Linked DNA regions of Homo sapiens: all the other regions are linked to region 1. The links are contacts of gene promoters, found by promoter capture Hi-C in blood cells and fetal thymus (Javierre and others, 2016). All regions are on one chromosome and are shown on one strand. Each heading gives the region's core, a stretch centred on a gene start or on the middle of the fragment in contact. The rest is flanking DNA. Distances are from core to core; before and after follow the strand shown.

Region 1 (2,700 bases), core at 66-2,565:
CACAGGCATGAGCCACTGCCCTTGGCCTTCTTCATCTTTCTTTACAGCACTGTCGTGAAGATTTATAGCCTAACTGTGTTCTCCAGAAACTGTTATCTCCAGAAAAACAGGAAGACATTGTTCTTATAATCTTTCCTATTATTATAAAGACTGAAGAAAAGACCAATTCTCCCCCTGGCTTTTCAGACTTTGAGATAAAATCTTTCAAATTTTTTTAATTTATATTGCCCCCCACCACCTCCCTGCCAGCTGGGCAACCTTCCCACTGTTGGCCCAAGAACTCTCATGCCTGGCCATCCCAGTGTACTATCAATGCCACTGATTCACAGAAAACAGTATGTGCGCTGGTGACATTTCCAGGGGAAGGACTGGGTAAACTCACCTCGACATTCAGAGAACTGGCCTGGGAGCTGAGGTTGGCACTAGTGAGAGCAAGCGGACCCTCAAACATCTGAGCCAAGTCTTGCATAAAAGCATGATCAGGAATCCGAATGCCTACAAGCTGTAAGGCAAGGGGAAAGGGATCATGAGAAAGGTTGGAAGGGATAAGAGGGTAAGTCTTATCTGGATCCTAGTGAAAGCCAAGTGGCCTGGAGTCTGGGGACACAAGAGAAAACTTGACTCACAGGCGTAAAAGGGTTTAGGTCCTTGTTGAGCTCCTCCGAGCGTTCCATCACCAGGGTCACTGGTCCTGGCAGTAGGTCTTTCAGGAGCCCCTCAGGTACTCTCACACGGCAGTATCTGGGAAACACAGAAGAATAAATCCATTCAAAATTGAAGGGCCACTGGTGGTCCTTTCCTAGACTCTAGGCAGACGTAGAAAAGGAATCCTTCGAGTTTACAATGGGAGCCGCCTGTCTCCCTGCTTCACCTCCCTAAGAGCTTGAGCAGAAAGCAGGGCTCCAGAGGCGCACCCCTGGCTTGACGCCCATGTGCCTCTGGTCTCAGGGACTACAACAGCTGCACCGCTGTGATATCATGATAGTGGGATCAAGCTCCACGTTTTATTTTCTTCAAGGCATTCGCTATTAAATTAAGCTACTGTGTTTGTTTGCTTTTTTCCCGGGGGCCTCCCCAATTAGCACAAATACGCCAAGGGAACAGGGTCCCTGCCTTTCTCGTGTGTTGCTGCTTCCCAGCAGCATGTAGTTCAGGGCCCGGGGCACGTTAAGTCCTCGGTACATATTTCCAGTTCCGGATTCCTTGGTGAGCCTGGACAAGCCCCTCCCGCTCTCTGCGCCTCAGTCTCCCAAGCCTGTCACCGGAAACCCCTCCCGCGGTGCCGCCCCTAGCGGGGCCGGGTCGGGGCGGCCTTACCTGTAGACGTCGGCCACGCGGCCGAGGCATACGGCCAGAGGCTTGGCCTCGCTGCGACCCTTGAGGCGGTACACAGCGCGCAGAGCCGCCGAGCAGCTCGCCGCGCAGGCCAGGCCGTACAGCGTATCGGTGGGGACGGCCACCACGGCGCCGGCGCGCAGCTCGGCCACGGCGGCCCGCAGCGCCTCGGTCCAGCCGGCGCGCTCCGGGCTCGCGGCCTGCACGGCCCCGCTCCCCGGGAGCCGCAACAGCCGGGCGCCGGGGGCCGCCGGAGCGGGACTCGGCGGGCGGAAGAGGCGACCGCTCCGGGAGCCAGCAGGCCCCTCGCTCAACCCCACGCTGGCAGCCACCGCGGCCCTCATCCCCCTGCACCGACGCGCCGGAGACATCCGCCCAGGCCCGCTTCCGGGAGGAAGTGACGCTCCCAGCCAGCTTCCGGTCCAGGAGACTCGGCCCCGCCTCTGCGCCGGGCAGCTTAAAGGGACCACGACCCCCAGGAGGATTGAAGGAGACCGGTGGGGACGGGGCGGGGCGCAGCCTTGCGAAGCCCTAACGCAGCGCTGGGGAGGGGGGCGGCCGAAAGGGGGGCGGTGGTCGGGCCGCGCAAGCGGAGATGGAATGGGGCCCGGGCTCAGACTGGTCACGGGGGTGAGAGGGGGCCCGTCGGGGCGGGAGGAAGGGGCTTGGCCCCGCGCAAGCGCCGGCCCTGACCGTCTGTCTCTCGCTCTCTCCCGGGCAGGGAGGCTGCCGGCGTGGACCGCGGGAAGGCGGGGCTGGGGCTCGGCGGGAGGCCACCCCCACAGCCGCCCCGGGAGGAGCGCGCCCAGCAGCTGCTGGACGCGGTGGAGCAGCGGCAGCGGCAGCTCCTGGACACCATCGCAGCCTGCGAGGAGATGTTACGGCAGCTGGGCCGCCGGCGCCCGGAGCCGGCTGGTGGCGGGGTTAGTGCCCACCCTGGGCTGGGCTGGGGTGGGGTGGGGTCTGCCCACTGGCTAGGCTGGCCAAGCCCTAGCTTACCCTGGAGGGGGGAAGTATGTCTCCGCCGCTTTATCCCTAACCTCCTTTGATCTGGTGAGAGGTTTCGAAAAAGTTAATACTATCCAAATGCCAAATGGCCACATCCTTGTGGGGCCTAATCCAAGGCCTTGCCTCCCAGCCTCACTTTTTTCCTTTCTGTTCCAACTAGAACGTCTCAGCCAAACCTGGAGCGCCCCCCCAGCCGGCTGTCTCCGCCAGAGGCGGCTTTCCAAAGGATGCTGGCGATGGAGCTGCGGAGCCCTGACCATCCCCGAGCAGAATACCCTGACTTCTCTCCCTCCCCAGGGCCGGTGGCTGGACTCTGAACAACTCCCTTCAGTAAAGGGGCCAGTCTTCACTGGCAGT
Region 2 (2,700 bases), core at 188-2,687, 1.1 Mb after region 1:
AATGTTTAAGAAAAGTGAAATAGTGGCTATAGATTGCATAAATAATAGGAATATTGTCTTTTCTGTTGGTCTTGAGACAAAACAGTCGATTATATTTGGACACGGGTGGCCATGGCACTTAAATAGCGGCTCTAAGTGAAATCCATATAAAAGGTACTGTCCAATCATGAATCCAACTTCAACCACAGAGCGAGTGAAAATGTGTATCACATAAGTGCAAAGCAAGGTTCCTCTGAGTGGAGCTTTATTTAGTTTCCTTTTCTCCAGCTGACAAAGCTCTTGCTCCAATCTCCTCCGATCCCTAGGCATTTCAAACTCTACCTCCTCCAGTTCTACTCTTAACTGAGCTTTCATCCTTTGCCTCTCTTCCTCAAGAACTCTCAGTCGGTACAATGCATGGCCCATGTAGACCAGGGATGGTGAAGACACAAATATCACCTGCAGAACCCAGTATCTAATGAGGGAGATAGGAAAGGCCTGGTCGTAGCATACATTTCTGCAGCCTGGTTGTTCTGTATTGCAGATGAAGCCAGACTGCTCATCATTCCAGACATCTTCAGCTGCTACACCCAGAACAAGCATTCGAAATATGAACAGGATGGTGAGCCAGATCTTTCCAATCATGGTGGAGTGGATGTGAACTTCCTCCAGAGTATCTCCAAGGAGATTCCAGTCCCCCATGTTTATTTAGTCAGCCATCTTAGCTCTGATCCACATCAAATAAGAGGCAGATAAATTCTTCCATTCTGAAGGGAGCACTATTTCTTAAAGCAAACCTATGGTGAAAATATAACAATATGTCACTTCTATATGCTGGTTGCTTTACTTTTTCCCTAGATAGCTGTGGGGTTTTTTCTTTGTTTGTTTGTTTGTTGAGACAGAGTCTCCCTCTGTTGCCCAGGCTGGAGTACAGTGTTGCAACCACAACTCCCTGCAGCCTCAACCTCCCAGACTCAAGCGATCATCTCCCCTCTCAGCCTCCTGAGTAGCTGGGACTGCAGGTGTGTGCAACTACACCCAGATAATTTTTTTTATTTTTTTGTAGAGACAGGGTCTCACTCTATTGCTGCAGCTAGTCTTAAACTCCTAGACTCAAGTGATCCTCTTGCCTTCACCTCCCAAAGTGTGGGAATTACAGGTGTGGGTCACCACACCTGGCCAAAGTGTGAATCTGTTACCAATAATATACTTAAATGTCAGGAATTTAAAATCACTTATATTTAGACATCACAATACAATGAAAAAAACATGATACCTGGAGGAGGAGTGTATATATTCTCTATTAAGAATATAGGCTGGGCGGGGTGGCTCACACCTGTAATCCCAACACTTTGGGAGGCCAAGGTGGGTGGATCATTTGAGGTCAGGAGTTCCAGACCAGCCTGGCCAACATGGTAAAACCCCGCCTCTACTAAAAATACAAAAATTAGCCAGGCGTGGTGGCAGGCGCTTGTAGTCCCAGCTACTCGGGAGGCTGAGGCAAGAGAATCGCTTGAACCTGGAAGGCAGAGGTTGCAGTGAGCTGAGATCAAACCCTTGACCTCAGATGATCTGGCCACCTCGGCCTCCCAAAGTGCTGGGATTACAGGCATGAGCCAATGCGCATGGCCTAAAATTATATTCTTTTTTTTTTTTTTTTTGAGACGGAGTCTCACTCTGTAGCCCAGGCTGGAGTGCAATGGCATGATCTCAGCTCACCGCAACCTCCACCTCCTGGGTTCAAGCGATTCTCCTGCCTCAGCCTCCTGAGTAGCTGTGATTACAGGCATGCACCACCATGCCCGGATAATTTTGTATTTTTAGTAGAGATGATGTTTCTCCATGTTGGCCAGGCTGGTCTCGAACTCCTGACCTCAGGTGATCTGCCCACCTCGGCCTCCCAAAGTGCTGGGATTACAGGCGTGAGCCACCATGCCCAGCCTATTGTTGTTTTTCAACAGAACTTTTGGAAAGGTTTCTAAAACTAGTAACCTGATCTTAACCTTATTTATTAAGATTATTTGATATAAAAGTTATAACAAAGTCAATTTCTTTTTCCCCAACATGCCATTACTGGCTTGAAAAGTCAGTGATTTTTTTTTCTTTCTTTCTTTCTTTTGGGACAGAGTCTTGCTCTGTCGCCAGGCTGGAGTGCAGTGGCGCAATCTCGGCGCATTGCAACCTCCGCCTCCTGGGTTCAAGCGATTCCCCTGCCTCATCCTCCTGAGTAGCTGGGATTACAGGCGCCTGCCAACACCCCCCGGGATAATTTTTTGTATTTTAGTAGACACGGGGTTTCACCATGTTGGCCAGGATGATCTCGATCTCCTGACCTCGTGATCCACCCGCCTCAGCCTCCCAAAGTGCCAGGATTACAGGCATGAGCCACCGTGCCCGGTCAAAAAGTCAGTGATTTTTAAATCTCATTTATACACATAGGAAAACGAATATGCTTCATTTGATAATTCAGTAAGATATGGCATTCAGTGAAACCAGAGGAAACAGATCTGGCTGTCATAGGAATTTAGATTAGTTTTTTTAATCCAAATTGAAATAAATTTGAAATAAATTCTGGTTTCTTCCTGGCAATTGGTGAACATTTTCAGAAATTCATCTCAGTAATATTTATGAATATGTATAAAGTACTTATTATACTTTACTATGAAAAAGTATACTTTTTTTCTTTTTTTTTGGTGGGGGGAGACAGAGTCTCACTCTGTT
Region 3 (2,700 bases), core at 86-2,585, 1.0 Mb after region 1:
GACAGAGCGAGACTCTATCTCAAAAAAATAAATAAACAAATAAACTAACATAGAGAAAAATAAGGAACTGCTAAGAATCAGTGCAAAAAAAGATAAATATATATGGAACAGGTAAAATGTGAAAGAAGAAACCTGAATAGCCATGAAAAGGTACTTGCCATGAAAAGACACTTGCTCTAACCAGTAATTTAAAAAGTAAAAATGAGAATCAAATAAGATACCCTTTCACACCTACCAGATTGACAATAATTAAACAGTCTAACAATACCAAGCATTATTAAGGACAAGAAGTGATAAGAACTTCCACAGACCGGTGCCAGCCAGGGATGAAAATAGTAAAGTCACTTTGGAGAGCTGTTTGGCAATCTCTTTATTAGTCAAAAGATATAGGTACTCTATAAATTCCACTCCTAAAGGCATACCCTAGAGAAATTCTCCACACGTGCAAAGGCAAACTTAAACTTGTTCATGAGCATTTGTTACAGATTTGAAATTTTTAAAATAATCCAAATGTCCAGCAACAAGAAAATAAAATGTGGTATAGTCAACCTGTAGAATACTATATGGCAGCGAAAAGGAATGAACTAGAACTACGTGTCATCAATCTGAATAAATCTCAAAAACCACCTGAAGGAAAAGAATCAAGCAAGTTGCAGAAGACTACTTATATTTTTATATCATTTATACAATACTCTATTGTTTAAGGATAGACATGAAGTGAAAAAATAAGAAAAATAAAATACACATAGCTCAAAGGAAGGGATTTCAATTGAGAAAAACACACAGAAGACTTCAGCTGGCCAGGCAGTTGGCTCTCATCTATAATCCCGGCACTTTGGAAGGCTGAAGGAAGAGGACTGCTTGAGGCAACGAGTTCAAGACCAGTCTGGGCAAGAGAGAGAGATCCTATCTCTACAAAATATTTTAAAATTAGCCAGTATCCTGTAGCATGAGCCTATAATCCCAGCTACTCAGGAGGCTGAGGTGGGAGGATCTCTTGAGCCCACGAGTTTGAGGCTACAGTGAATTATGATCATGTTGGGGCAATGGAGTAAGATTCTGTCTCTTAAAAAAAAAAAAAGATTTTAACTGTATTTGTCATTTTAGTTCTTAAGCTGAAAGGTGAAGATACATGTTTTGATTTACCCAAAAATTTGTGTATATCTGAACTATTCCATTAAAAATTCAGGCCGGGCGCAGTGGCTCACTCCTGCAATCCCAGCACTTTGGGAGGCCGAGGCAGGCAGATCACGAGGTCAGGAGATTGAGACCATCCTGGCTAACGCAGTGAAACCCCGCCTCTACTAAAAATACAAAAAAGTAGCCGGGCGTGGTGGCAGGCATGTGTAGTCCCAGCTACTCGGGAGGGTGAGGCAGGAGAATGATGTGAACCCGGGAGGCGGAGCTTGCAGTGAGCCGAGATTGCGCCACTGCACTCCAGCCTAGGCAACAGAGCGAGACTGTCTCAAAAAAAAAAAAAAAACTCAGGTAGAAGAGGAAGGACTTGTTGCAGTAAATAACAGAGCTACTGTAGATCCTTGAGTAGTTAAATAATATAAAATAAATTTTCTGAAAACTAATCTGCCTTTGGGATAAAAGATGACACATACTACACCCTCCACATATATGTCAACTACATGAATATTATCAAGTAAGAGACTACTGCAGCACCACTGGCCTGAAGCAATGAGAACCTGGAGTGGAATCACTGACAGTGAAAATGGAAAGGAAACCCAAGTAACAGTTACAAGAAACAAATGATCAGATTTGGTGAAAATTCAATATAAACAACATAGAAGAATAGAAAAAGGAGATCACGAAATCTCCTCTGTGAACCAATCTGCAAGGGCCCCTTCAGCAATCACACCACACAATTACCTAACTACAAGGTATCTACACTTGGACAGGAGAAACTCGCGTAACTAGTGACAGAAGTATGACAGCCACGAGAGTCACAAAACAGGGGAAATACTCATCAACCAATGATTGACATGACGTTGAAGGTAACATTCACAATATTTAAGAGAGAACGTCTTACTAATAGCTCCAAACATGGGACGAGAGCATGATCCCAAGTCATAGCTGGAGATGTGAATTTTTCAATCACATAGAGAAGATTAACTGAAGCCATGTATTTGATGAGCTGACCTAGAAAATACGCAAGCAGAAAGACTTGGCTCTGACAAACAGGACTGAGGAAAAAAAAAAAAAAAACAGAAGAAACAGGAGAGGTGGTCGGGAAAACAAACACACAAAATATCCCAAGAATTCAGCTTCAGAGAAGCAAAGAGAGAAGAAAGTTTTCAGAAAGGAGGGACTGACAAGATCACATGCTTAGAAGATTGAAAAGCCTGCAGAGTAAGAAAAGGCCACTGAATGCAGGAAGGAGGTAACCTGGTAACTTCCAAAAGTCTAGTTTCTATCATCAGAGTGAACAGGCAACCTACAGAATGGGAGAATATTTTTACAATCTACCCATCTGACAAACGGCTAATATCCAGAATCTACGAGGAACTTAAACAAATGTACAAGAAAAATACAACCCCATTAAAAAGTGGGCAAAGGATATGAACAGCCACTTCTCAAAAGAAGACATTTATGCAGCCAACGAATATATGAAAAAAAGCTCATCACCACTGGTCATTAGAGAAATCCAAATCAAAACCACAGTGAGATACCAGCTCATGCCAGTTAGGATGG
Region 4 (2,700 bases), core at 31-2,530, 1.1 Mb after region 1:
GTTCGAGATGACCCTGGCCAACATGGTGAAACCCCGTCTCTACTAAAAATACAATAATTAGCCGGGCGTGGTGGCGCGCGCCTGTAATCCCAGCTATTCGGGAGGCTGAGGCGGGAGAATTACTTGAACCAGGGAGGTGGAGGTTGCAGTGAGCCGAGATTGCACCACTGCATTCTCCAGCCTGGGCGACAGAGCGAGAGACTCCGTCTCAAAAACATAAACAAACAAACGTGTACAGCCCTCCATTTGTTCATGAAGGCCCAAAAGTGAAAACAAACAGACTAGGTCTGCAAAATATTCTCAAAGTCTCAGATTTTTAAAAACACACCCCTACAGGGGGAACAGCACCAGTAATTACATTCACCAGGCCACAACTACTGAAATGGGTGCAATCTCACTACCCAATTCCCAGTAATGCTACAGCGAAGTCTCCTTCACATCAGTAGCGAGAATTACAACGCCCAGTGTCTTAGTCACAACTCTTCCTGACGCTGCTCCCTGGGGCTCTGCTGGGAATCCCGAAACACTCAGGTCACCTGAAGTGAGAACAAATCAAAACGGGCCAGGGGAGGGAGTCCACGAAGTTCTCCAAGTGAGAACTGGAGAGTACGTCTCAGTTTCGTAAATGACACAGGAGCTGGGTCCCAGGGGGCGGAGGTCTTGGGCGGTGCCACCGGGCACCTGCCTCCCGGCAACCAGTTTCGCCTTCAGCGCTCCACTTGGCTTCAGCTGACTTGGGCGTGGACACAGAGGTCGGGGTCCCCGCGCGGGCCGCGCCTGTGCGCTCGCAAGAGTGGAAGAGAAAGTGCGGAGGGACGGAGCGCAGGCGGGCCCCGGCCGCCGCCCTCCCGGGCGTCCCCGCTACCGGCCACCTGAGAACCGGGGAGGGGGCGGGGGACTGGGCGCAGCCCTGCTCACCTTCTGGATGGAGGACTTGCCGCTGCGCCGGAGTCCCATGAGCAGAATCCTCGGCTTGGAGCTGTCAGCGCCCCCCGGACCACAGCCACCGCCTGCCCCTGCCCCAACCCCTCCGCCCGCCGCCGCCGCCTCCTCTTCCTCCTCCTCCACGCCGTAGCCGAAGTCCTTTGGAAACGAATCGGCCGCGCCGTAACTGCCGGCGAGGGGCGTCTCCTCCGCCCCGTACTGCAGGGACATGGTGCTGGAGCCGCCGCCGCCCGCGCCCTGACAGGCCAGGCCAGGCCGAGCCAGGCCGCCGCCTCCCCAGTCCGCCTCCGCCGCCGCCGCCACCACCGCCACCGCCCCCGGCAGCCGCCACAGTCCGGCCCGCCCCCCGGAGCCCGGCTCTCATAGGCCCCGAGCCGAAGCCCAGCCGCTTATTGGCCGCCCGAGCTGCTACTCGAGAGCAGCAGGGTAGGTGGTGCCCCGTCACGTGCCGGAATCACCTGACTCAGAGCCGCGGAGGGGGGAGGAGGAGTCACGAGGAGGGCGGCCCGGCCGCGCCTCTAGCCCCGGCTCGGGCCCTCAGCCCTCCGCCCCGGCCCGCATACAACGCTGTCTGCACCGCTCCCCTGCCTTCTTCCGGGCTCCCAGAGCACCGCTATGGAGATGCTCTCCCGGCATTTGAGGAAGAATTGATTGTCCTCATCCTGCAACTGTACTTGCCCAACCGATATTTATTGATGCCTGCAGTGTCCTGGGTGCCTACCAAGGGGCACAGAACTGGATCCGACGCAGACCCTGCCTGCCTTCAGGTTGCTTGAAGATGAACAGAGAGATCGGACCTCTGCGTAAGTAACCTCGCTACGAAATATTATGTGGGAAGGTCACGGATAAATAATGCTCGGGAGTTGAATGAGAAAGCGTCTGAGCAGATCTAGGTGGATGGATAGATTGGGATGTGCAAAGGTATGGGGGAGCCAGCCACACTGAGGGCAAACCTCAACCAAGGCAGAGTCATGGGTCACCGTGATAGTTTGTTCTAGCAGGTAGCTGGACCCTGATGGGAAAGCAGATGCAGCCAAGCTAGAACATCTTATCTTCTTTCTTCAGTAAGTCGCCGATAGTGGATACTGCTGCCACTTCAAACCCAACGGGACTCAATTTGCCCTCCTTCCCGCCTTGTCAAAGTCTACTCTAGGAATTCCATCCCCCATAGAACACTGCCTCTTCTATGACCTCGTTCAGATTAGAGACCAAAGTATTGAATAATGAAAGCAAACAAAAGCAAATGCTTGTCACCAAATATGTCCGAGAAATCTAGAGGAATTTTTATTTTTGATAATCAGGCTCTAGAACTGGAAGTTTGAGAAGAGGATCCTCTTAAAGCACAGCCCTATACACTTTTTAAAGTACAGGAGTGGGGGTGCTCCCAGCCCTCCAAGGAGACTGACTTCTTGATTATGAAGGAAAAATTCGCACATGCGGGCAGGTCTGGGACTTTGGTTTTGTCTGAACCCAGAAGTTAGAGGTAGGATACACCCTTAGAGGTCATCTAGCCCAACCTCTCACCTAAAACGAACCAACTCTATAGTGTCTAATAGACATGCAGAATGCACTTAAATAGTTCGAAGGTAAAAGAGCTCACCATCTCGAAAGGCAGCCAACTCCACTGTGGTAAACCTTTGTTTAAAAATTGTTAAAGCCGGCCGCGCGGTGGCTCACGCTTGTAATCCCAGCACTTTGGGAGGCAGAGGCGGGCGGATCATGAGGTCAGGAGATCGAGACCATCCTGGCTAACAT

Evidence for each region. The method cuts DNA at HindIII sites, captures the fragments that hold promoters and counts their contacts. A CHiCAGO score of 5 or more calls a contact.
Region 2: a contact is called between a fragment that was not itself captured here and the fragment with the promoter of C1orf122 in region 1, in 2 of 17 cell types (fetal thymus and neutrophils). The highest score is 10.1, in fetal thymus.
Region 3: a contact is called between a fragment that was not itself captured here and the fragment with the promoter of C1orf122 in region 1, in 1 of 17 cell types (neutrophils). The highest score is 6.3, in neutrophils.
Region 4: the fragment with the promoter of RRAGC here is called in contact with the fragment with the promoter of C1orf122 in region 1 in 1 of 17 cell types (neutrophils); the score reaches 5.3 in neutrophils.

Annotation. Positions count from the first base shown.
Region 1 is chr1:37,806,475-37,809,174 of GRCh38, forward strand. It overlaps C1orf122 (chromosome 1 open reading frame 122), which reads left to right and starts at 1,316. Exons shown (of 3, transcript NM_198446.3): 1 at 1,316-1,965; 2 at 2,057-2,258; 3 at 2,504-2,700. The coding sequence starts at 1,931. The coding sequence ends at 2,599. It overlaps YRDC (yrdC N6-threonylcarbamoyltransferase domain containing), which reads right to left and starts at 1,734. Exons shown (of 5, transcript NM_024640.4): 1 at 1,318-1,734; 2 at 627-741; 3 at 383-502. The coding sequence starts at 1,706. RefSeq lists silencers at 1,384-1,643, 1,824-2,373. The HindIII fragment of the contact is 6,155 bases long and covers 1-2,700 here.
Region 2 is chr1:38,875,418-38,878,117 of GRCh38, forward strand. GJA9 (gap junction protein alpha 9) reads right to left here. Exons shown (of 2, transcript NM_030772.5): 2 at 1-776. The coding sequence starts at 681. RRAGC-DT (RRAGC divergent transcript) reads left to right here. Exons shown (of 2, transcript NR_186075.1): 2 at 524-809. All of the region lies in intron 1 of GJA9-MYCBP (GJA9-MYCBP readthrough), which reads right to left. Among named protein-coding and RNA genes, the nearest start is that of MYCBP, 3.4 kb to the left of the region's middle. The HindIII fragment of the contact is 8,897 bases long and covers 1-2,700 here.
Region 3 is chr1:38,842,251-38,844,950 of GRCh38, forward strand. All of the region lies in intron 6 of RRAGC (Ras related GTP binding C), which reads right to left. Among named protein-coding and RNA genes, the nearest start is that of RRAGC, 16 kb to the right of the region's middle. The HindIII fragment of the contact is 4,730 bases long and covers 1-2,700 here.
Region 4 is chr1:38,858,492-38,861,191 of GRCh38, forward strand. It overlaps RRAGC (Ras related GTP binding C), which reads right to left and starts at 1,281. Exons shown (of 7, transcript NM_022157.4): 1 at 919-1,281. The coding sequence starts at 1,155. It overlaps RRAGC-DT (RRAGC divergent transcript), which reads left to right and starts at 1,402. Exons shown (of 2, transcript NR_186075.1): 1 at 1,402-1,748. RefSeq lists a silencer at 811-1,570 and an enhancer at 1,206-1,500. The HindIII fragment of the contact is 4,947 bases long and covers 1-2,700 here.